2 separate regions of the Homo sapiens genome follow, and region 1 is linked to region 2. Evidence: promoter capture Hi-C in 16 types of primary human blood cells and fetal thymus (Javierre and others, 2016). All regions are on one chromosome and are shown on one strand. The core of a region is centred on a gene start or on the middle of the fragment in contact, and the rest is flanking DNA. Distances in the headings are between cores, read along the strand shown. Region 1 has its middle 8.2 kb from the start of SOX12. Region 2 holds the start of DEFB129 (defensin beta 129).

Region 1 (6,463 bases), core at 425-2,924, 100 kb after region 2:
CCCCTGGTAAAAGCAGGTGGGAGGGAGGTCGTCATCTGAGTTTGTCTTACAGAATAGCCTGGAATGGGGTGCACGGTAAAATGCCTGACCGGAGATAATGCTAGAGCTGTGGAACCTTGGGCAAGCCTCTTCCCCTTTGTGGGCTGTACTGGGAGTCGGTAATAGGACTAGAAGAGGGACCATCTCATTTTGGTTCCTTCCATTTCAGATGCTGACCTGAAAGGTCGGGGAGACAGCTCCTTATGGGGTCTCTGGGGCCACCTAGTGGCTAAGAGGAGTAGAACCAAGGTTCTGTGCAGTTGGGAGGTGGGAGTCGGGGTGTGTCCCAGGCCAAGGAACTGAGTCCCACTCGAGTCTCACTCCATTCATGCATTGACTCATTGCTGGGTCATGCCCCTTGCCTGGGTGGTGTGAGCCACCCTGCTTCCAAGGCTTTCAAAACACCATACGCTGATGTATTGTTTCTCATCTATTGCTGCGTAACAAATTGCCACAAGCTTAGCAGTGTAAAACAACATGCATTTGTTATTTCAGTCTCCATGCATCAGGAGTCCAGCATGCCTTAGCTGGGTCTCTGCTCAGGATCTCACAAGGCAGCAGCTGGGGTGCTGGTGGCCCGCATTCCTTCTTGGAGCTCAGCAGCCTTTTCCAAGCTCTCACGGTAGTGGGCAGAATTCAGTTCTTTGTGCTTATAGGACAGAGATCCCTGTTCTATTGCTGGCTGTCAGTTAGTACCACTCTTGATTACTACAAGCTGCTCAGTTTCTTGCCACATGGCCCCCACAGGGCCTCCCCAGCCTTCTCACAATATTGCAACTTATTTTGTCAAGGCCAGAGGAGAATTTTTCTGCTGCTTGGAGTCACTTGGCTCAGGGAAGGTTTAAGCTCTCTTTTAAAAGCCTCTCCTGGCTGGGCATGGTGTGTTCATGCCTGTAATCCCAGCACTTTGGGAGGCCAAGGTGGGTGGATCACCTGAGGTCAGCAGTTCGAGACCAGCCTGGCCAAATGGTGAAACCCCTTCTCTACTAAAAATACAAAAATTAGCCTGGCGTGGTGGCAGTCGCCTGTAATCCCAGCTACTTGGGAGGCTGAGGCAGGAGAATCACTCGAACCTGGGAGGCGGAGGTTGCAGTGAGCCAAGACCAAGCCACTGCACTTCAGCCTGGGCGACAGAGCAAGACTCTGTCTCAAAAAAAAAAAAAGAAAAAAAAGGAAAAAGAGAGAGAGAAAAAAAAAGCCTTCCCTAATTAGGTCAGACTCACCCAGGAAAATCTCCTTTTTGATTAGGCATCAACTAATGTGGGATTTTATATCTGCAAAAAATCCCTTCACCTTTGCAGTATATTGTAGCCTTATAAGAGTGACAGCTGTCATACTAGATTTGCCCACACTCAAAAGGGAGGAGGCTGTCTAGGGCAGCTACACCAGAGACTGGGAATCTTGGGGGCCATCTTAGAATTCTGCTTATCACACACCTGTAATCCCAGCACTTCGGGAGGCCAAGGTGGGAGGATTTCTTGAGTCCAGGAGTTCAAGACCAACCTGGCCAACATAGCAAGACCTAATCTCTAGTAAAGTTTTTTTTAAAAAAATTAGCCAGGCACGGTGGTACACACCTGTAGTCTCAGCTACTTGGGAAGCTGAAGTATCATAGCTGAGAATTCTCAGGTCTACATCTCCATCCCAGACATGACTAGACTAGCTGCCTTCTTGTCATCTCCACTGATATATCTAATTGGCACCTCAAACTGGACATGCCAAAAAATGAACTGTTTCCACAGTGCTCCCAAGCCTGCTTCCACAGACCACATCTGCACAGCTGATGTGAAATGAAAGGCTAAAGCCTCTCAGTTATCCTTGATGCCTCTTTTCCTCCCAGCGCCATCTCCCTTATACCCTGTTGGCTCTACCTTCAAAATATGCCCTGTGTCTTGTCACTTCTCACATCTTCCATGGCCTCTGGGTCCAGGATATAAGGGCATACGAAGGGCTCCTTGCGTTTTCCTTTGCCCCACTCATAGTCTTATTGTCCACACAGCAGCCGGAGTGATCTGGTTAAACTGTAAATCCCAGCACACCCTGCCACTGTTCAAAATTCTCCAAAGACTCTCATTCAGTAGAAGCCAGAGTCCTCAGCATGGCCTGCAAAGCCCCATAAGAAGTAGCCTGTGGCTCAGCCTCGGCTTCATCTTCTACTTTTTCTGTTTCTCACATGCCCAGTCACACTGGTCTTGCTGTTCCTCAAAAGTGCCAATCACACTTCCGCCTGAAGGCTTTTGCACATGCTTTTCCCTCTGCTTAAGATACCCTTCCTCCGGCTGGGCGAGGTGGCTCACGCTTCTAATCCTAGCACTTTGGGAGGTCCAGGTGGGTGGATCACCTGAAGTCAGGAGTTCGAGACCAGCCTGGCCAACATGGCGAAACCCCTTCTCTACTAAAAATACAAAATTAGCTGGGCGTGGTGACACATGCCTGCAGTCCCAGTTACTCAGGAGGCTGAGACAGGAGAATCACTTGAATCCAGGAAGCAGAGGCTGCAGTGAGCTGAGATCGCATCACTGCACTCCAGCCTGGGCAAGACAAAGCGAGACTTCACCTCAAAAAACAAACAAAAAAATACCCTTCCTCCAGATAGCCACATGTCTTACTTCCTTCAGGTCTCAGCTCCCAGGGCGCCCTAGAGTAGGCACAGGGAGTACCTCACAGTGTCCTCCCTGACCATCCATATAAAGTAACATCCTCCATAAACTATCCTGTTACTTTGCTTTATTTTTCTGAATAGCATTTATCACTATCTGGCATTTATCACCTGTAGTTTTTACTTTTTGTCTCTCTCTCTCTAATTTGTATGTAAGCTTCATAAGGAAGGAATGACTCTGGACTGGACTCCATGCCTCAGCACATTCACCCACCCATTCAACAAACATTCTTAAGGGTCTAGGCTGGGCATGGTGGCTCATGCCTGTAATCCCAGCACTATGGGAGGCCGAGGTGGGAGGATCACTTGAAGCCAGGAGTTTGAGACCAGCCTGGGCAAGGAAACAAGACCCTGCCTCTAAAAAATACAATTTAAAAAAGTATCCAGGCACAGTGGCGTGAGCCTATAGTCCCAGCTACTCGGGAGGCTGAGCTGGGAAGATCTCTTGTGCCCAGGAGTTCAAGGCTGCAGTGAGCCATGGTCATGCCACTACACTCCAGCCTGGGTGACAGAGTTAGACCCTGCCTGTAAAAAAAAAAAGGTGGGGGGCAGGGTGGGGAAGGTTTGCCTTGACCAGGCCGCGTGCTAGGTGCCGGGCATACAAAAGTGAAAAACGTGATTTGTCCTCAGTGAGCTCACAGGTCTGAGGAGACACATAAACCCAGGAATGGAAATGCTTTGCTGGCGATGGACAGTGAGTCTGGGAGAACATTGAGGAGATGTTTAACCCAGACAATGGAGTGGGGTGTGGTCAGGTCATTCCCTGGAGGAGGTGATGTTTAAGCTGTGGCATGAAACCTCAGTAGGATGTGATGACCTTAGAACATGGCTACACGTTCTTTGACATTCCTCCTTTAAATTACCTTCCCTTTGAATCTGGGCTGGGCCTTCATGATCCATTTGTAACCAACAGGACACAGCAGACATGGTGCTGCAGGATTTCCAAGGCTAAGTCACGCTGAACCGCCATGTTGAAAGGCCAACAGCCAAGACTGCCATGTGGAGAAGCAGCCCGGGCCACGTGGGAAGACCATGTGTAGGTAGCTGCTCCAGTTGACAGCTGAGCCCAGGCACCAGACTTATGAGTTGAGAAGCTTCCAGGGGATTCCAGCCCCTCATAATTCAACTCACTCCCAGCTGTTGGAGGGCCTTCCCAGCAGAGGCCCAGCCATCACAGAGCAGAGACAAGCCATCCCTTCTATATCCTGTCTGAATTCCTGACCCAGAGTCCACGAACATAATGAGATGGCAGTTGTCCACACTATTAGGTTTTGGGGCAGTTTGTTATGAAGGAATAACTGGAACAATAGGATAAGGAAGAGTGAGGTGAAGGAAAGGACTTTACAGATGCCAGCAACAGTACATGGGAAGACCTGGTAAGAGTGGCTGACACAGAAGCTAACCAGCTTGCGGGGAAGGTGTGGAGAGAGGAGGGTGACAGGCAAGAGTGAGAAGGACCTTGAAGGTATTTGGACTTTATCCCGAGTCTTCACACTGCAGCCCAAGGGGTCAAGGAGTCTTTTTTTTTGTATGGTAAACATGGGGTCTTGCTATGTTGCCCAGGCTGGTCACAAACTCCTGGCCTCCAGAGATCCTCCTGCCTTGGCCTCCTAAAGTGCTGAAATTACAGGTGTGAGACACTGTGCCCAGCCTCCAAGGGGTCTTCTCTTTTTTTTGAGACCGCGTCTCGCTCTATTGCCCAGGCTGGAGTGCAATGGCGCAATCTCAGCTCACTGCAATCTCCGCCTCCTAGGTTCAAGCGATTCTCCTGCCTCAGCCTCCTGAGTAGCTGGGACTACAGGCATATGCCACCACACCTGGATAATTTTTGTATTTTTAGTAGAGACAGGGTTTTACCATGTTGGTCAGGCTGGTCTTGAACTCCTTACCTCATATGATCTGCCCACCTCATCCTCCCAAAGTGCTGGGATTACAGGCGTGAGCCACCATGCCCAGCCGGGGTCCTTTGAAAACACAAACCTGACCACTGCTGTAAACCTTTCGATGGCCCCTTACTACCCTCAGGATAAACTCTTGAAATTCAAGGCATTTTGCAGTTGACTCCCTCACTCTTTTATAGATTTATCTTCGGTCACTTTATCCTCAGCTACGCCAGGCCACTCTCCAGTGACAATGCTTCCCGCCTCACCCATGCTATTTATCTTTGCTCATGTGGAGGAATTAGTGGGACTTTGGGCTAATCACCTTGCCTTTCGAGGCCTCAGTTTCCCCATCTGTATGATTAGGTGGTTGGACTAGAAGTTTTTGTTTTGTTTTGTTTTTGTTTTTGTTTTTTTGAGACCGAGTTTCACTCTGTCGCCCAGGCTGGAGTGCAGTGCTGTGATCTCGGCTCACTGCAACCTCTGCCTCCCGGGTTCAAGTGATTTTTCTGCCTCAGCCTCCCAAGTGACTGGGATTACAGGCATGCACCACCAGGCCCAGGTAATTTTTTTGCATTTTTAGTAGAAACAGGGTTTCACCATGTTGGCCAGGCTGGTCTTGAACTCCTGACCTCAAGTGATCCACCTGCCTCGGCCTCTCAAAGTGCTGGGATTACAGGTGTGAGCCACGACACCCAGCCTTAGATGTCTCTTAAGAGCATATCTAGCCTGGCATTCTAGGAGTCTATGAAAAGGAGGGAGAAAGGTGTCTGTAGCCAAACCTGCCTGTCTGGCTTCTTCTAGGTTGCCTAGCAATGGATGCCAACCCTCTCCCCCATCCTTGGGGGTTTCTTAGCAACCCAGTTTCTCACCCTCTGCTGTTTTCAGGGTTTCCTTTTAACTAAATGTCAAGTTTTGCTCTTTCTCCTCCAGAAAACCTGAGGCCAAGGGTCTCTGTGTAGAGCTGGATACAACCCAGAATACACAGAGACCTGGGTTTGAGGTCAGTGGAGGATTTGCTGTGTGACTTGGAGGTCTTTGACCTCTCTGGCTTTCATTTCAGACTGTGATTCCCTGTCATATGCTCCTCAGAGTTCTTCTTCTTTTCTTCTTCTTCTTCTTTCCTCTTCTTCTTCTTCTTCTTCTTCTTCTTCTTCTTCTTCTTCTTCTTCTTCTTCTTCTTCTTCTTCTCTTCTTCTTTCTTCTTCTTCTTCTTTCTTTTCTTCTTCTTCCTCTTCCTCTTCTTCTTCTTCTTCTTCTCCTCCTCCTCCTCCTCCTCCTCCTCCTCCTTCTCCTTCCTTCTTTCTTCTTCTTCTTCTTCTTTTGTTTTTTGAGACCTAGTCTCACTCTGTCGCCCAGGCTGGAGTGCAGTGGGGCGATCCCGGCTCACTGCAACCTCCGCCTCCCTGGTACAAGCAGTTCTCCTGCCTCAGCCTCCCAAGTAGCTGGGATTACAGGTGCACGCCACCATGCCCAGCTAATTTTGTATTTTTAGTAGACACAGGGTTTCACTATGTTAGCCAGGCTGATCTCGAACTCCCAAACTTTGGGATTACAAGCATGAGCCACTGTGCCCAGCCTGTTCTTTTCTATTTTTTGAGATGGAGTCTCACTCTGTCACTTAGGCTGGAGTACAGTGGCACAATCTCAGCTCACTGCAACATCCACCTCCCAAGTTCAAACGATTTTTCTGCCTCAGCCACCAAAGTAAGCTGGGATTATAGGTGAACACCACCACACCGGGCTAATTTTTTGTATTATTTGGTAGAGACGGGTTTTCACCGTGTTACCCAGGCTGGTCTCAGACTCCTGACCTCAAGTGATCCGCCAGCATCAGCCTCCCAAAGTGCTGGGATTACAGGCATGAGCCACTGTGCCCAGCCCT
Region 2 (6,252 bases), core at 3,643-6,142:
AATGACCGTTGGGTCATTGAAGAAATTAAGACAGAAATTTTAAAATTTCTTGAAACAAATGAAAATGGAAATACAACATTCCAAAACCTATGGGATACAGCAAAAGCAGTACTAAGAGGGAATTTTATAGCAATAAATGTGTATATCAAAAAAGTAGAAAAAATGATCAATAAAGCAGTCTCAGTATCAAAAATTATGCCATATGTCATTCCCTTCCCCAATATAGAAATTATTTAGAAATCAATAACAAAAAGTTCAAGAAAATGTATATTATGAAAAAAATCATGTAAGAATTTCAAAATGTTTTGCACCAAAATAAACTAATACTAACTGGTTATAAAATGTTTGAACAAGATCTAGTTTCAGACACTAAAAAAGATAAGACATCAGTCTGAAAAGAGCCCCTATCAGAGCAACATGAATTCTGCTAAAATTGAAGCAAGAACAAACATCAAATGTACAGTGAAGCTTGGGTAGAAGAATGATGAAATCATTGATGCTTTACAAAAAGTCTATGGGACGATGCCCCAAGGAAGTCAGCAGTTTGCAAATGGATAACTCATTTTAATAAGGGATGAGATAATATTGAAGATGAAGCCACCAGCAGCAGACCACCCACATCAGTTTGGGAGGAAAAAATTAATCTTGTTCATGCCCCAGTTGAAAAGGACTGATAATTAACAGTAAAAACAATTGTCAACATCATAGACTTCTCAGTTGGTTCAGTTAATGGAAATCTGACTAAAAAATTAAAGAAGAACAAACTTTCCACTTGATGGGCGCCAAAACCATTGTGCCAAAATCAGCTACAAACAAGAGCACAGCTTTCAATGAAACTTTAAACAAGTGGGATCAAGATCCTGAAGCATTTATTCAAAGCACTGTAACAAAAGTTGGAATCTGGCTTTACCAGTATGACCCTGAAGACAAAGCAAAATCAAAGCAAAGAGATGGAAGTGATCCAGTCCAAGCAAAAGCTGACCAGTTAAGAACAAAAGTCATGTCAACAATTTTTGGGGGTGCACAAGGCATTTTGCTTGTTGACTTTCTGGAGGGCCAAAGAACAATAACATCTGCTTATTATGAGAGTGTTTTGAGAAAGTTAGCCAAAGCTTTAGCTGAAAAATACCCAGGAAAACTTCACCAGAGAGTCCTTCTCCAACATGACAATGCTCCTGCTCATTCCCCTAGTCAAACAAGGGCAATTTTTCAAGCGTTTTGATGGAAAGTCATTAGGCATCCACATTGCCATCCTGACATGGCTCCTTTTGACTTCTTTTTATCTCCTAATCTTAAAAAAAAATCTTTAAAGGACACCAATTTTTCTTCAGTTAATAATGTAAAAGAACACTGATGTGGTTAAATTCCCAGGAAGCTCAGTCCTTCAGGGATAGACTAAGTGGCTGGTACCATTGCTTACAAAAGTGTCTTGAACTTGATGGAGCTTATGTTGAGAAATAAAGTTTATATCTTTATATTTTTATATTTTAATGTCATCTTCCACAAACTGTTTGAAGTTCCCTCATAACTAAAATGTCCCCACATGCTCAGATAAGAAACACATTTCTCAACCAATGTTTCTCAGATATTAAAGTACATACAAATCACCTGAGGATCTTCCTAATACGCAGATTTTGATTGACTCATTCTGAGATGAATTGAAATCCTGCATTTCTGACAAGCTCTCCGGAAGTGTTGATGCTTCTGGTCTTTCCACCACACTGTGAATAGCAAGGTTCAAACTAATTCATATGTCAGAAAAGATGACACAGTGGAAATTGAAGTGTTTATTTTTAAGTGAATGATTATGATAACAAAACACTGCAAATAAAAACTTATGAAGTCCAGCTAAAGCTGCATATAAAGGGAAAATTAGAGTCTTACCCACTTGGTTATACTGAAGAAAAGCTGAAAATGTATGAGATAACAACACAAATAATAAGTTAGAAAACAATAACAGAATAAAATGAAATTTTATTCAAAGAAGTTCAAAGAAAGGAAGATAAAGCTGAGAGGAGAAAATAATTAAATATTTTTTAATTTTCATAATATTTAAAATAAAATATAATTAAATAAAAATCAAACATAGAATCAACAAAACCAAAAGCTGATTTTGAAAAGACCAATTAATTAATTCACTATAGGAATAACAAAGAAAAAATTGAAAACACATTACCCATATGAAGAATAAAACACGTAGCCATCACTACAAACTCTATAGATAGTAAAGAGATCAAAGGACATATTGTGAGTGACCTTATGCCAAAAATGAAATTTAGAAGAAATAAACATTACTTGATGTGACCCAAGAAGAAATTGAAAATTTGACAGTTCTAAATTGTTAGGGAAATTAAATCTTAAATCTTTAAACTCAGTTGAGTTTTTCTGCTACATTCCAATGTCTGATCCCTAGCTCTATGGGTTTCAACAGACAGTTGTAGAAGCAGCAGAAAAATATCCTTGCTCTTATATTACAGCTACCGTGGTGTGTTCTTGAAGTCCAGCATGTCTAATCATGGGATCCTGTCACCCTACTTTCCTGACTATGAAAGAACTAGCAGATTCTCTGCTGGGCCAGTTTGTTGGAATGTTCTGGAAGTCATTCTGGGAGACCAAGCCCACAGTCAGCTTCTGTAGAGAGTTTATAAGCACATAATTCTGAGTATTAAAAATATTTCTGTTGAAAATAGCTAGTGTTTTTCATTTCCCAACTGATACACATAAATGCAACACTTTGCACATGTGAATAATTTGTCTTTTTACAAAATTATGCTACACTGTTGATAGATTCATTCCATATATACATGCAACATACTTAATTTTTCATAACTTTCCAATTCTTATTAACTCAACTTTTTGTTCCATAATAACTGTGCTTCTCTTTGTACCAGTACTTTCCATATTCTTATTGCTTTGGGACTAGCAAGACACAATGAGGTGAATAATGTTATTTCAATGCATCTTAAAACACCAGAAACCAATTAATATGCGATATTCAGGATTAACTGATTCCAAAGGGCTGTTAATTCCATCTCTTGATATTGACAAGTAGTAAGTAAATATGCCTAAGCTTGATTATTTTTGTTCATAGAAGTAAAATATACATTTCATAAAGTGAAAGTTCATAAGATTTGCTTTTATTGTTTTAAAAAATAACAGTTAATTTAAACAAAACTGAGGAGTCATTGGATACTATAGTAGCTAATGAAATCCTAAGAAGACATGAATTTCAGGAAGGCGAGGAACCAGGGAAACTCTTGAAACTTGAACAATTAATAATATTCAGAGCCAATGAGCTTCAATATCTGAGTTTCTTAGGAAATGTCCCAAATTAGCAGGGGAAAGCATCTGATTGGTAGGCTTGGTTCTATTGTTACACCTGGATCAATCAGCTACGACCAAGGAATCTGAGCAGTACACTATAAAAATTGCTGCTTTTAATTATTTCAACCATTGTGGAAGATAGTGTGGCAATCCCTCAAAAACCTAAAGTCAGAAATACCATTTGACCTAGCAATCCTATTACTGGGTATATGCCCAAAGGAATATAAATGGTTCTATTATAAAGACACATGCATGCATATGTTCACTGCAGCGCTATTCACAATAACAAAGACATAGAATCAACCCAAATGCCCATCATTTGGCCATTTGGATAAAGAATGGATAAAGAAAATGTGGTACATATATACCACGGAATACTATGCAGCCATAAAAAAGAATGAGATCGTGTCCTTTGCAGGGACATGGATGGAGCTGGAGGCCATTATCCTTAGCAAATGAAGGCAGAAACAGAAAACCAAATACTGCATGTTCTCACTTATAGGTGGGAGCAAAATGATGAGAACACATGGACACACAGAGGGGAACAACACACACTGGAGCTTACTGGAGAGTGGAAGGTGGGAGGAGGGAGAGGATGAGGAAAAATAACTAATGGACACTAGGCTTAATAGCTGGGTGATGAAATAATCTATACAACCAACCCCCATGACACACATTACCTATGTAACAAACCAGCACATCCTGCACATATACCCGCGAAGTTAAAAAAGTTTTTTTTTAGTTGCTACTTTAAAAGGATGTGGGAATCATTGTAAACTCAAAAGTTAAAGATGTGCCAAGAGCTGTCTCCCACGAACTTGTTTAACAAACGTACTGACTTTGTATGTTGATCCAATACCCATGCTGGCCACTGGACATACCAGTACAAACAAGGCAGAATCTTCACTCTCCTCTAGCTCTTCTAATTCTCATGCACTAAGTGCCAACCTTAGCATAACTGGGCTGACAATCAGTGAATCAAATATCTAACTCTTATCCTACTCCAACGTTAAGAAAGAGACATGCGACTGGGTGCGGTGGCTCATGCCTGGAACCCCAGCACTTTGGGAGGCCAAGGTGGGCGGATCACTTGAGGTCAGGAGTTTGAGACCAGCCTGGCCAACATGGTGAAACCCCGTCTCTACTGAAAATACAAAAGTTAGCTGGGCATGGTGGTGCATGCCTGTAGTCCCAGATACTCTACTTGGGAGGCTGAGGCAGGAGGATTGCCTGAACCTGGGAGGCGGAGGTTGCAGTGAGTCGAGATCACGCCACTGCACTCCAGCCTGGGCAACAGAGTGAGACTCCATCTCAAAAAAGCAAAAGAGAGACACATGCAAAGGGCTTGCTCTTTCTTTCTCATCTTACCTATCTTATGTTTTCCTCCAGGATCAAGAGCAAGGAATTTGTTGCATAGAGGTGTTCAAGAAAGGGTGTTTTCAAACAGAGTCAGAAAAAACACAACTATACTGCGAGCAGCATACAAACCTGCTTTGGCTGCACTTCACTGCTCATGGCATAAGGCCACGAAGAGGCCAATAAAGGCTGGAGCTCAGGAGCATCAACCCAGATTCAAGGCTTCCTCTCTGGCACCCAACCATGAAGCTCCTTTTTCCTATCTTTGCCAGCCTCATGCTACAGTACCAGGTGAACACAGGTAATGTGGATTCCCAAGTTTAAGATGGGTAGATGAGAGGAACCAAGGATTTGGCTGCCCATGACAATGGAAACCCAAAGAGAGGAGACTGAAAGATTAGCTGTTCAAAAAGATGGCTAAAGAGCTTACCTATTGTATCAGTCATGCACTGATACATTCTCATAGGCCCCAACTGCCAGATTGTGTCCAGTGGAAACACCCAGGAAGCTACAGAGAAAGCAGGGTATTTTTTGTCTATTCAGAAACTATCCAAAATATAATGCTGCCTTCCTGCCCTGTATATGTCTATCATGCTAAGACTAAGCCCAGGTCTACCTCCTTTTAGCTCTATTTCTATCTTAAAAGCCCTTTTTTTTTAAAAAAAGTCCTGGGGTACTTGTGCAGGATGTGCGGTTTGTTACATAGGTAAATGTGTGTCATGGTTATTTGCTGCACCTACCAACCCATCGCCCAGGTATTAAGCCCAGGATGCATTAGCTATTTTTCCTGATGCTCTCCCTCCACCCAACAGGCCCCAGTGTGTGTTGTTCCCCTTCCTGTGAAACCACCTCTTGAAGCAAAGTTTCCTATCAGTTTGTGCTTGGTGTAGAAAGGAGGAAGTTCTTCCCTCATGCTCAAAAAAAAACCCTTTCAAGATCAAGTAAACAGGCCTGTGTTCTCCATCTTGAATTCTTTCAGGTTTTCCAGAGCCTTTATCGCTTCTCTCAGACTTTGTCTTCCTGAAAACCCCCAAACTACCATAAGGGCATCTAGGAATGCATTATAGCAAAAGGCTAAGCCAGGGGATTAACCATTGTTTTTGGAAAAGAAAGGAGAAGCACTGAGATTTGTTTCAGAATACAAGAATCATCCAGCTATTTGAAAAAATTAGCAAAGGGTTTCGGGGCAGGGAAAGTGGAAGTGTCAAAGATGCTTCTAATGTTTTTATCTTCTAATGTTTTTATCTTGGGACCCTAGGAAAAGGGTAGTACCATAAGCAAGTATGGCTGTGTCATCTTGGGTAAAGTCACTTAACCACTTTGAACTTCAATTTCACATGAGTATAATGGGGTTAATCAATGCAGCTGATTCCAATATAAGAATTTTTCTGTTTCCCGTTTGATGAGAAAACAATGTGGAAATGTATGCAAATATGCTTTGAAAATTAGCAGATGCTACATAAATCTCTTGTAATTTAGGGAAAATCATTGGGTTATTAAGATGAACAAGGGAGAAAAGCTTTCTTGATTCAGAAAAAAGAAACACGAGACATTAGGATGGAAAAGTCATTC

The links. Contacts are between HindIII fragments. The CHiCAGO score rates a contact against its expected background, and 5 or more counts as called.
Region 1: a fragment that was not itself captured here is called in contact with the fragment with the promoter of DEFB129 in region 2 in 10 of 17 cell types (megakaryocytes, naive B cells, M2 macrophages and 7 more); the score reaches 9.1 in megakaryocytes.

What each region holds. Positions count from the first base shown.
Region 1 is chr20:330,498-336,960 of GRCh38, forward strand. No RefSeq gene overlaps it. Among named protein-coding and RNA genes, the nearest start is that of SOX12, 8.2 kb to the left of the region's middle. RefSeq lists an enhancer at 128-422. The HindIII fragment of the contact is 2,358 bases long and covers 496-2,853 here.
Region 2 is chr20:222,366-228,617 of GRCh38, forward strand. DEFB129 (defensin beta 129) reads left to right here and starts at 4,893. Exons shown (of 2, transcript NM_080831.4): 1 at 4,893-4,981. The coding sequence starts at 4,924. The HindIII fragment of the contact is 3,129 bases long and covers 3,069-6,197 here.